2 separate regions of the Homo sapiens genome follow, and region 2 is linked to region 1. The links are contacts of gene promoters, found by promoter capture Hi-C in human tissues and cell types (Jung and others, 2019). All regions are on one chromosome and are shown on one strand. The core of a region is centred on a gene start or on the middle of the fragment in contact, and the rest is flanking DNA. Distances in the headings are between cores, read along the strand shown. Region 1 holds the start of MC3R (melanocortin 3 receptor). Region 2 has its middle 30 kb from the start of FAM210B.

Region 1 (5,943 bases), core at 2,169-4,668:
ACAGGCATGAGCCACCATGCCTGGCCCACTTTTTTTTTCTCTTGTTGCTTGTGCTTTTGAGAGTGGGGAAGGAGTACTGAACCCTGTCAGCTTGTCAGCAAGGAGAAAGGGTGGTAAATTAGTGTATGAAATTTAAGAAAAGCTGTAAAAAATAGTTGACATTTAAGCTGGATCTTGAAGAATAAGGAGGGTATACCAGTCACAAAATTGAGGAAGAGCTTTTCAGGCAAAGAGACCACCTGGGTTCATTATCTCCTAGAATAAGAATCTCCTTGTTACATTTATTATAACTGATTCAAAACAGACACCCCCACATATGCCAACAACATACGGTAAACACTGACAGAGACTGTCATGTCCTACAATTGTTATTAATAAAGCCAATTCATTCATGCAAGATTCAGTTAAAACGTAATGCTGCATCTGTGCAACTCCCCCAGGAAAGTGGGAAGTAGTGTTTGGAGAAGACCAAATAAACACTCATGAGTGATGATGATACCTCTGAGGACACAGATTTTAAGTACTAGGTCCCAGCTGCTCTCTTTGAAGGATGCACACGACCAGAGAATGAAAGCAGGAAAAGGTGGTCAGTGCTCAGCACGTGCCAAGCACAGAGCAGGAAAAGACCTAGTAGATAATGAATGGTCCCTGCCTTATAGTCTAGCTTTACATGTATGACTCATGCCCTTGAAACCACAGACTGGATGTGACCCTGAGGGTAAGAGAAGTTCCCAAAAGGATTAAGAATGTGTTTTTTTCCAACCTAGAAGAATGGTGGCTTGGCATCAGAAATTAAGTCGTTCTGTTGAAAATAAACAGAAGTGGAAATGTATATTCAGGGCAACTTAAACTCATGCTCTTGACAAAATATTTTTTTAAAAAAAGCAAATAAACAAAAGTATTTCTCATGCCCCTCAGTTCATAGACAGAAACTCATACCAACAGGCTTTTTTTTTATTTTAGTAAGAACTGCCAAATGGTGAAACTATTCACAAACACTAGAAATGCATGAGAGTGTCCTCCCGATATTCTTACCTGAATTTTGCATCTTTTTATCTCTTGTCAATCTAGCTGGGAAAACGATATTAAAATCTCATTTTGACTGGCATTTCCCCAACTTCCTAGATGGCTTCACATCTTTTCATGTTTATTAACCATTTGCATCTTCTCTTCAGTAAATTATTATTTATATCCTTTGCCCAATTTTCTTAGGGGTAATTTATCTTTTTCTAGTTAATGTGAAAGTAGTCTTTGTATGTAAGAGATAGTAACTTTACCTATAGCAAATATTTTCATTCTGTTTTTCTTTTAACTTAGTTCAGGGTGTTTTTCCATACTAAATTTTGGATTGCTCATCTTGCTTAAGATCTTTCCACCCCAAGGATCCTAAGTTTTCTTCTATTTCCATATGCATATTTTTAATATTTCTCACACCTACACACACATACATAGTTACATGGAGAGATGGATCATTAATTCACCTAGAATGTGCGTGTGTGTGTGTGTGTGTGTGTGTGTGTGTGTGTGTAGGGATGAGAAGACTCAGTGTTTTCTGAGTTCATATGATCTACATGGGGAATCAGATCTAACATGGACCAAGTGTTAAACCATACTTCCAAGAACAACACTACATTAGTAGGCCACCTGCTAACTTCTGCCTTTCACATTTTCCAGCTTAAAACATCTCCATCCTCCCCATTATGTAAGAAAGAAGTACAGGTGTTTCTGACTGCTCCCTCTCCCATGATCCCATAACCCATCAGTTCTGAAGCTGCATTATCCAACCTTCTGAATCTCTCTGACCACCCTCCAAGTCTTCCAAGTCCCCATGGCCACTCCCTTGCTCCAGGCCACCATCATCTCACCCTGGGTCTTTGCAACACCCTCTGCCCCGGACTCCCTGGCCTACATGCTCAGTCTGTCTAATTCATTCTCCACCCTGCAACCAGGAATATTTCTAAAATGCAGACCCCATCTCATTCCTGCCCTACCTATGTTTCTTCCACAGTCCCCATTGCTGTCAAGGTACTGTCCAAATTCTCACATCTGGCTGAGGCTGTCCTTCAGGATTCAGGCACCTCTCAACTTTTTAAGAAACTGTGCAGCCTCATTTCTCAGATTGTGTCTCCTATTTCCATGCTCTGACCAGAGCAGACTACTTTCAGCACTTTCAAAAGCCCAAGATTCTTTTTCAGTGGAGCTCAACTGTGACTATGCCCCAGCTCACCTGTCAAAAATTGCAAACACACTTGTTCAGGTCTTACACCTGGGTGATTCTGACTCCGCGGGTCAAATGGGATCTCCACATCCACAATCTGTGATGACTTCTATGGCCAGGGTGCTCTCTGCCTCCAGGCTGCAGACGTGTGATTCCCTCTGCCTGGAGTCCTCTTCTACCTCCTCCAGCTCCAGCCCCCACCCCACCACCCACCCCAAACTGGATATGACCTCTTCCTCCTTGAAGTCAAAGCATAGGTGCTCCTTCCTCCAGGAACTTTGACAGTCCGGGTTAGGGCTCTTCCTCTTTGCATCCCTGGTTTCCTGGACTTTCCTGATTCAAGCATTTATTGATTCCTCTTCTTCCACCCCAGACTCTGAGTTCGGGGAAGCCTGAGATAGTGGCTGTTGTCTTGCTCACCACTGTATTTCCTGCACTCAGCAGAGACCTGACACATAGTAGGCGCTCAATAAATGTTTGCTAAACAACAACAACAAATGAATGAACTAACAAATAAACAAACAAATGAACAGATGAGTGGATGCCTGTGGCAGTTTCCATGACAAACACAAAGGGCTAAGCCAAGCCAGCAAGCAGACAGCCGTGCGGCCTGCAGAGGGCACTAGTCTGCTTCTTAATCTCCCTGCAGAATCCTCAGGGCCAGGTACCTGCTGTCAGTCAGAGAGGTGCCCGATGCTCAGTGGTCATTCTGCTGCGCTGAAGATTAAGTAGGAGTTGTTTGCCCTTGGCCAATATGAAAAACCTGAGTGTTCTCCCTTCACTTCTAGCGACAAGTAACACATCCCCTGTCTTGCCATGAAAAGAGCTGTAACTGTAGCAGCCGGTGGCAGGTTTTCTGTTCCCAGGTGGGGAAGTGAGGAGAGACAAACAGAGGGGTGAGAGGGAGACAGAAGGAAGACAGCTGGTAAGAGACCCTATGGTGTATTTTTTCTATGTAAACAAGATAAAAACTGCTCCTCCTGGAACAGCAAAGTTCTCCCTATGTCTCCAAGCTACAAACTTGCATGCTAGCTACTAACTAGCTACTCTCCCTCTCTCTCTCTCTTCCCCCTTCGCTCTTTCTCTCTGTGTGTATGTCTCTCTCTCTCTCTGTCTCTTCCTCCACCCTCTCTCACTATCTGTCTCTCTACCCTCCCCATCCTTTTATTCTAGAGGAGAATAAACTCTAAGGCCAGATTGAATGAGCATCCAAAAGACGTATCTGGAGGGAGATTTTGTCTTTCCTGTGAGCAGCAGCAGCTTCCTACGGACCCTGCTGGAGCCCCAGCTCGGATCAGCCCTTCTGACAGCAATGAATGCTTCGTGCTGCCTGCCCTCTGTTCAGCCAACACTGCCTAATGGCTCGGAGCACCTCCAAGCCCCTTTCTTCAGCAACCAGAGCAGCAGCGCCTTCTGTGAGCAGGTCTTCATCAAGCCCGAGGTTTTCCTGTCTCTGGGCATCGTCAGTCTGCTGGAAAACATCCTGGTTATCCTGGCCGTGGTCAGGAACGGCAACCTGCACTCCCCGATGTACTTCTTTCTCTGCAGCCTGGCGGTGGCCGACATGCTGGTAAGTGTGTCCAATGCCCTGGAGACCATCATGATCGCCATCGTCCACAGCGACTACCTGACCTTCGAGGACCAGTTTATCCAGCACATGGACAACATCTTCGACTCCATGATCTGCATCTCCCTGGTGGCCTCCATCTGCAACCTCCTGGCCATCGCCGTCGACAGGTACGTCACCATCTTTTACGCGCTCCGCTACCACAGCATCATGACCGTGAGGAAGGCCCTCACCTTGATCGTGGCCATCTGGGTCTGCTGCGGCGTCTGTGGCGTGGTGTTCATCGTCTACTCGGAGAGCAAAATGGTCATTGTGTGCCTCATCACCATGTTCTTCGCCATGATGCTCCTCATGGGCACCCTCTACGTGCACATGTTCCTCTTTGCGCGGCTGCACGTCAAGCGCATAGCAGCACTGCCACCTGCCGACGGGGTGGCCCCACAGCAACACTCATGCATGAAGGGGGCAGTCACCATCACCATTCTCCTGGGCGTGTTCATCTTCTGCTGGGCCCCCTTCTTCCTCCACCTGGTCCTCATCATCACCTGCCCCACCAACCCCTACTGCATCTGCTACACTGCCCACTTCAACACCTACCTGGTCCTCATCATGTGCAACTCCGTCATCGACCCACTCATCTACGCTTTCCGGAGCCTGGAATTGCGCAACACCTTTAGGGAGATTCTCTGTGGCTGCAACGGCATGAACTTGGGATAGGATGCAGGGCCATGGAAATGATCATCAGTCGGGTCACTTTTGACTTTCCATCCACGTGAGGTGTTTAGAAAGAAAAATATATATACTTAGAAAATATAAAAATGTGTTAACAGCCATGATTGTACTTGTCGTTTGTTTTTAAGTTTACAAAGCCTTTTAAAGGGGAAAATTGGTGAACAACAGATTCTCTGAAAGGATTCCAAGATGGGTAAGTCACAAACTCTGATTTCCCAAATAGTCACTGGGAGAAATCAGCGAAGGCTTCTCTGCATGCTCTCTGCACTCATTTCCAAACACCCAGGGTGTGCGACGCCTGTCTGCTCATCTGCTCCACACCCACGTCTTCATGCTCCAGGCCAGACCAGACTGAAGGATTCTCATGAACAATAAGGGTGGTTCAGATCTCTTGCAAGCAAACCTGTTACAGCTACGACCTCCTGCTGCCAGCTACACGGAGAGATAGCTTTGCACTTATAACTCCGTAGGAGACTGAGTTCTACTCTATTATTCTATTTACAGTTAGACAATTGTCTCTTTGTGAAAGGAGCAATGCTATGCCGTTTTCCCCTTTTCTTACCCCCATATCCCTTCAGTTGTCCCCACCCCCAAAGGTAGCATGAGGATGTAACCCACTTCTATTTTTCTGTTGTTGTGTTGGTGTGTGTTGTTGTTTTGTTTTTATGGATTAAATCTAAGACAACCTTCAAAACTCTAACGAAAGAGAGAAAGTGCTTTGGACAATCAGAATATACTTGTGTACGTGTATTTTGATACCTTGCTATTTTAAGGTATAGATTAATCTTTTTAAAATAACTTCTTTTTTTCTATCATTTACTTTTAGCCTTTAAAACAAGAAAGGAAATCATGGGTTGGGGTACATGTATATACGTGTGTGTGTGTGTGTGTGTGTGTGTGTGTGTGTGTGTGTATCACAAGAAATTGCTTTACTGTAGCTTAAGATAGTTTGAGAAACCGTAGAACCACTGTGTGACTTTCTTGGGAGCCCTTGTTTTTGCTTATAGTAATTGCATCTCTATCACAGGACTTCTTCAATATTATCTATGAAAGAGAAAGTTTTTTTGTTCTTTTCCCTTTTTGCTTGGCATTGTGTTAAAGTTGAGTGACCCTGTTATCAATGTCTATATCCTATCAAGTACAGGAATTCATTCCTGGGAGCAAAGGGTGAGACTGGCTGACTAGTGCTCGCATTGTCAGATCCTTTTCTGCCCAAGATAACTTCAATTTGTGCTTTCTGGCTGTCCCCATATCTCCCCCTGTCACAAATTCTTATATTAAGCTGTGTCTTGGGGTGCAATTGTGTGTTTATCTTGCACTAGCATATACTGGGGTTCTTTAATACTTGAAGATTTTCTGCTAATATAAGCAAAACCATTCCTTTCTTGCTTTGGTTATGATGTTTGGAAATAATAAAAAGCTTTTA
Region 2 (5,943 bases), core at 933-3,432, 79 kb after region 1:
CCAGGTGCAATGGCTCACGCCTGTAATCCCAGCACTTTGGGAGGCCGAGGCAGGCAGATCACGAGGTCTGGAGATCTAGACCATCCTGGCTAACACAGTGAAACCCTGTCTCTACTAAAAATACAAAAAAAATCCGGGCGTGGTGGCAGGCACCTGTAGTCCCAACTACTCGGGAGGCTGAGGCAGGAGAATGGCGCGAACCCAGGAGGCAGAACTTGCAGTGAGCCAAGATCGCACCACTGCACTCCAGCCTGGGCGACAGAGCGAGACTCCGTCTCAAAAAAAAAAAAAAAAAAGATAAACGGGGTGAGCCAAGAGTAGGGGCCAGCCCTCCTCACACTGCCAAGGTCTGAGGTGAAACTCTGAGGAGTCCAAGAACTCTAAATTTAAACTTTACGTACTAGGTCATTATGGAGGTGTATTCGTGAAAGTAGAAGGCCCAGATGGTGCTATTTAGCACTCTGTCAGATTGATGCATGACCATTAAACACGTAGATGTACAGAATGTGGATCTCCATTTATACTCTAGACAAATGTCTTACTCAAATGGCCACACAAATGTTAGGGGCAGGTGCCTGGCGCTCATATCTGAACAGCCTCAGAGAGCAGGGAAGGACTGGTTCCTGGGCCATCTGGGCATATGGGGTATCTGGAAGTGCAGCCATTTTGGTACCCCAAAGTGACACATAAACACCATATTGAGCACCAAACCTTCAAGGGTGGCATTGAGGTTAGAAGAGATTTCAAGAAGCCTGGCAGCCAGATGTGAGGAATAGCACAACAGTGACCTGTGTGCATCAGTGCCTGGAGACCAGAACAAGGGCAATGGGAGTCTCAGAGGGCACCCAAATGAACAATGGCATCAAGAGCCAGATAGCTGCAAAGTTTAATTGCTCAGTGCTGTGTAAGCCCCCAGAAACACAGACACAACATCAGAAGAGATCAATGTTCTACCACATTGGTACCAATGGGTCTTAAACTAGAAATTAAGTGGAATCAGAACAAAGTCAAGGTTTATCACCGGCACACCTGAGTCATGTTTGAAGGGGCACTCAGGCTACCCACAGGCTTTGTGCTCAGCCTCACGGCACTGTCCAGCATAAGGTACATGTTTAGCAATGGTTTTTGAACTGTGGTTACTAAACTCGGGTTTTTTAATCTATCTGCATTTCAAAGTGCTTGGTTTGGATTTGGGGGTAAAAAATGTGGTCCTTGATATGCCAGTGCATTAAGGTCAAGCCTTCCCTGAAGAACATTCACATTTTTTTCTACATAGAAGTGGAATCTAGCTTGTTGGTTGTCTGAGAGACAAAATGTATTGCTTTGTACCATTTAAATGTTAAGAGGGTTTTCATGTTTTTCTGCAAAAAGCCTATTTACCCTGCACTGAGTTTCCCCGGCCTCACAGTATCACAGGTTAGGGAGTTCCCTTTCATTAAATGGTTCTTTAGACCATGAAATTTTCTTGTTTTGCTTTCTACCAAATTCCAAATTAATTCCAGTCCAAGGTTTAATAGATCAGATCCATGAGGTCATTGTAACTTCATATTTTATATTAAGCATGACTACTATTAATTGAGGGCCAGCTTTGTGATATGCATGCTCTATACATTGTCTCTAATCCTCCTAGATCTCCCAAGGTAAGTAGCATTTTTCCTAACAACAGAACTGAGGCTAAGTGAAATCACATAGGAAAGCTAGAACCTGAACATAAGTCTCCATGGTCTCAAAGCCTGAACTCACCACTACAGCATATAGCAATTGTACCCTCATTATCTGAGGTTTCAATTTTGCAATGTCCATATTTTGAGTTTTACATCATTTTCCTGCTCCTAATTGCCCAGAGTCATAGTGGACTGCGTACAAGCTTCATTTCTCCCTCCAAGGTTTTGCAGAGAAAAATTCTATTGTTTGGCCCAGGAGCCCCAGGTATCATTTAGGGTGTGGGAACAAAGTGAAATAGGTACTTCCTTTACAATGATGCCAGGCACCTCTCCTCCTTCCAGGTACAACACATCTCTGTGTCTTAGATCTTAGCTGCACCTGGGACAAAGGCTGTTCTCTGCAGAAAGAAGCTAAGAGATCAGAGTAGTTGAAGGTATTGCAGGTGTGCCCACTCCAACACTGGGGCATGCCCAGCTCCTTTGGAAAACTCATGTGAATAAGAGCCTCAGCAATTCAGGAAAGTGAAGCATGCTGAAAAGCAAGGGTCAAAGTAAAAAAGGTAAGAAAGAGTACTTTTTTTATTAAATATAATTCATTTAGCATCGAATTCACCCTTTTAACATGTACGATTCATTGGTTTTTAGAATATTCACTAAGTTGTGCAACCATCAGCACTATCTAACTCTAGAACATTCTCCTCACAACAAAAAGAAACCTCATGGCTGGGGGCGGTGGCTTATGCCTGTAGTCCCAGCACTTTGGGAGGCTGAGGCAGGTGGATCACTTGAGGTCAGGAGATCAATACCAGCCTAGCCAACTTGGTAAAGCCCTGTCTCTGCTAAAGACACAAAAATTAGCCAGGCGTGGGGGTGTGGACCTGTAGTCCCAGCTACTCATGAGGCTGAGGTGGGAGAATCGCTTGAACCCGGGAGGTGGAGGTTTCAGTGAGCCAAGATCGTGCCACTGCACTCCAGCCTAGGTGACAGTGAGACTCTGTCAGAAAGGAAGAAAGGAAGAGAAAGAGAGAGAGAGAGAGAGAGAAAGAAAGAAAGAAAGAAAGAAAGAAAGAAAGAAAGAAAGAAAGAAAGAAAGAAAGAAAGAAAGAAAGAAAGAGAAAGAAAGGAAGGAAGGAAGGAAGGAAGGAAGGAAGGAAGGAAGGAAGGAAGGAAGGAAGGAAGGAAGAAAGAAGAAAAGAAAAAACAACCTCATGCTCATTCGTGGTGAGTCTCTATGTTCCTTTTCCCCCAACTCCTGTGAACCATTAATCTACTTTCAGTCTTTAATGGAGTTGCTTATTCTAAACTTTGTATGTAAATAGAATCATGAACTATTTAGCCTTTTATGTCTGGTCATTTTCACTTGCCATAATATTTTCAGTGTTTACCTGTCTTGTAATGTGTGTCCATACTTTAGTCCTTTTTTGGCTAAACAATTGTATGGATATAGCACATTTTTAATCCATTCACTAATTGCTAGACATGTAGGGATTTTTTCCACTTTTTTACTATTATGAAAAATGCTACTAGGAAAATTTGTGTACAGGTTGTTATGTGGACATATTTCTTCAGTTCTTTTGGGCATATATCTAGGTGTGGAACTTCTGGATCATATGATAACTCTACGTCTATAACTTTTTGAAGAAATCCCAAACTGTTTTTCAAAATGACTGCACCATTTTATATTCCCACCAGCAAGGCATGAGGGCTTCCATTTCTCCATATCCTTGCCAACACTTGTCATTGTTCATCTTTTATATTATAAACACTCTAGTGGGTATAAAGTGGGTTTGGTTTTTATTTGCATTCCCTGGAAGACTAAAGCCAACACGCCCAGTGCATGACTTCTTTTGCAGGGAACTGTCCGTCACAGAGGTGCTGAAATCATCTGGGTTGAGGAGATGTGGCATGAGGCATCACAGCCTCTGCCTTCAAATGTTATGCCAGAATAAGACATCAGAGGAGTCTTGAAGGTACAGAAAGAATTTGCCAAGTCAGCCAGGCATGGCGGCTCACGCCTGTAATCCCAGCACTTCAGTAGGCTGAGGCGGGCAGATCACTTGAAGTCAGGAGTTTGAGACCAGCCTGGCCAACGTTGTAAAATCCCATCTCTACTAAAAATACAAAAATTAGCCAGGCATGATGGCATGTGACTGTAATACCAGCTACTCAGGAGGCTGAGGGACAAGAATCACTTGAACTCAGGAGGCAGAGGTTGCAGTGGGCTGAGATCACACCACTGCACTCCAGGCTGGGAGACAGAGTGAGACTCTGTCTCAAAAAAAAAAAAAAAAAAAAAAGAATTTACCAAGTAGATGAGAGATGAAGAAGAGCATTTCAGGCAGTGCAAACGGTATATGCAGAAATGTAAAGGCAGAACACAGAATGGCACATTTGACATGTTACATTAGTTCTGAAGGCTCGGTGTAGAATATGCAAAAGGAGAATAATAAGTGAGGAGGTTGAAGAGGTACACCAAGGCCAGATCACAGAGTGCCATGTATGCTATACTAAAATATTAGAGCTTTATGCCATAGGCAATGGGAAGCTACTAGAGACTTTTTAATCAGTGACATAAATGACAAGGCAAAGAGTTTAAAAAAAGAACTTTCTGTGTGAGGAATAACAGGGAGGGAGATAAGGAGATCAGTAAGGCTGAGGTGGGTGTTCAGGAGAGAAATAACCAAGGTCAAAGCTGAAAGACAAAATAAGGGACCTTTTCTAGGACATATTCCTAACCTGCTACAAAGGTTGGTGTCCTGCATTTCAGCAGGACCTGGGAGTTTTGTTATCTGTATATTGGTATTAATGTGATCTCAGTTGTATCTTCAGGCTGGGGAGGTCTGGGAGAATACTTAATGAAATGCTGATTGTTTTCAATAGGAAAATACACTTCAACTGGACTACAGTAACCAAGAACCTTTCTTCTGTGTTATTAAGACACAAAAGGCAAGATTTCAGCTCATACTCTTTTAACCAAGCCAGAATTAACTTTTTGTTATAACTGAAGAAGCAATAAACCTCAAGGCTTGGATAGTCCCTATCTGTTTGCATTTACTCTTCAATTTCCTGCCTGAATCACACCTCCACCTTCCCTTAAAGGTGAAAGCCTATGGCCAGGCATGGTGGCTCACACCTGTAATCCCAGCACTTTGGGAGGTCAAGGCGGGTGGGTCAAAGGTCAGGAGTTCGAGACCAGCTGACCAACATGGTGAAACCCCATCTCTACTAAAAATACAAAATTAGCTGGGCGTGGTGGCATGCACCTGTAATCCCAGCTACTCAGGAGGCTGAGGCAGGAAAATCGGTTGATTCCAGAAGGTAGAGGCTGCAGTGAGCCGAGATTGTACCATTGCACTCCAGCCTGGGCGACAGAGTGAGACTCTGTCTCAAAAAAAAAAAAAAAAAAAAGCCTATTAGAGAACCTGCAAAGTAAAAACAGAGAGGCAATAAGGGAGAAGCAAGGCATGAAGGACCCTCAGGGGTAGGGATGTAATGAATATCTGTCTACTTTGACTGCCCAATATCTTGAGACTACTTCCTTACTGTGAAAGCAAGTCTCGAACCAAAAGCAGAGAAGAAAAATTAACTTGCAAATAAGTTGCAAAGGAATCTAAGATTTGGGAGTTCCAGCTCATCAAGTAAAAACACAGCAAGTATTTAAAATAAAAAACCGCACAAGATAATCAAGATTTTCAAGTTTACAATTAGTTTCTTTGTAGTAAAATAAAAAAATAGCACCTTTCTCAGGTGATTATTATACCTCTAAAGGTTGTGACATATCTTCCCATATCAGCCTTACAAAAATCAATGATAAAAATGTCTTGTTAGGGAGTCAATAACCTATGTAAAATCCTCAAAGTTCCATTTATTTTGAGTGCTAAAACTAAACAGGGTTACCTGGTATATTGGTTTGTTTTCTGGTGCAATATGTTTGCTTGTTGGCCATGGAATATGATTTGCACACATATTTGTAATGGTGGCAAGGCAAAATTTTAGTTTTCACCTTTTGGTGGTTTCAGGCTGCATCGATGAAACTGCCTTTAAAAATTATGACAATAAGAGAAACCTGACATAACTGACTCCATCTTGATTCTAACCTCTAAGCTGCCCTTGTTCATTCCTGGGCATAGGCCAACCTAACTTTGGGAGGAATTTAGTCCATAGTTTCATCTTAAAGCAAAGATGACAATAGCCTTTCCCAAAACTACCCCCAACCTTGTTCAAGACTAAAACTGCCTTTGTTAAAAAAAAAAAAAAACTAACTAAAGGCCACAAGAAT

What was found. The method cuts DNA at HindIII sites, captures the fragments that hold promoters and counts their contacts. A contact is called where the count stands out against the background at its distance.
Region 2: a contact is called between a fragment that was not itself captured here and the fragment with the promoter of MC3R in region 1, in 2 of the 25 tissues and cell types used here (H1 embryonic stem cells and dorsolateral prefrontal cortex).

The regions. Positions count from the first base shown.
Region 1 is chr20:56,245,314-56,251,256 of GRCh38, forward strand. It overlaps MC3R (melanocortin 3 receptor), which reads left to right and starts at 3,419. Exons shown (of 1, transcript NM_019888.3): 1 at 3,419-4,502. The coding sequence starts at 3,531. The coding sequence ends at 4,502. RefSeq lists a silencer at 2,820-2,889. The HindIII fragment of the contact is 18,891 bases long and covers 1-5,943 here.
Region 2 is chr20:56,325,534-56,331,476 of GRCh38, forward strand. No RefSeq gene overlaps it. Among named protein-coding and RNA genes, the nearest start is that of FAM210B, 30 kb to the right of the region's middle. The HindIII fragment of the contact is 4,501 bases long and covers 1-4,433 here.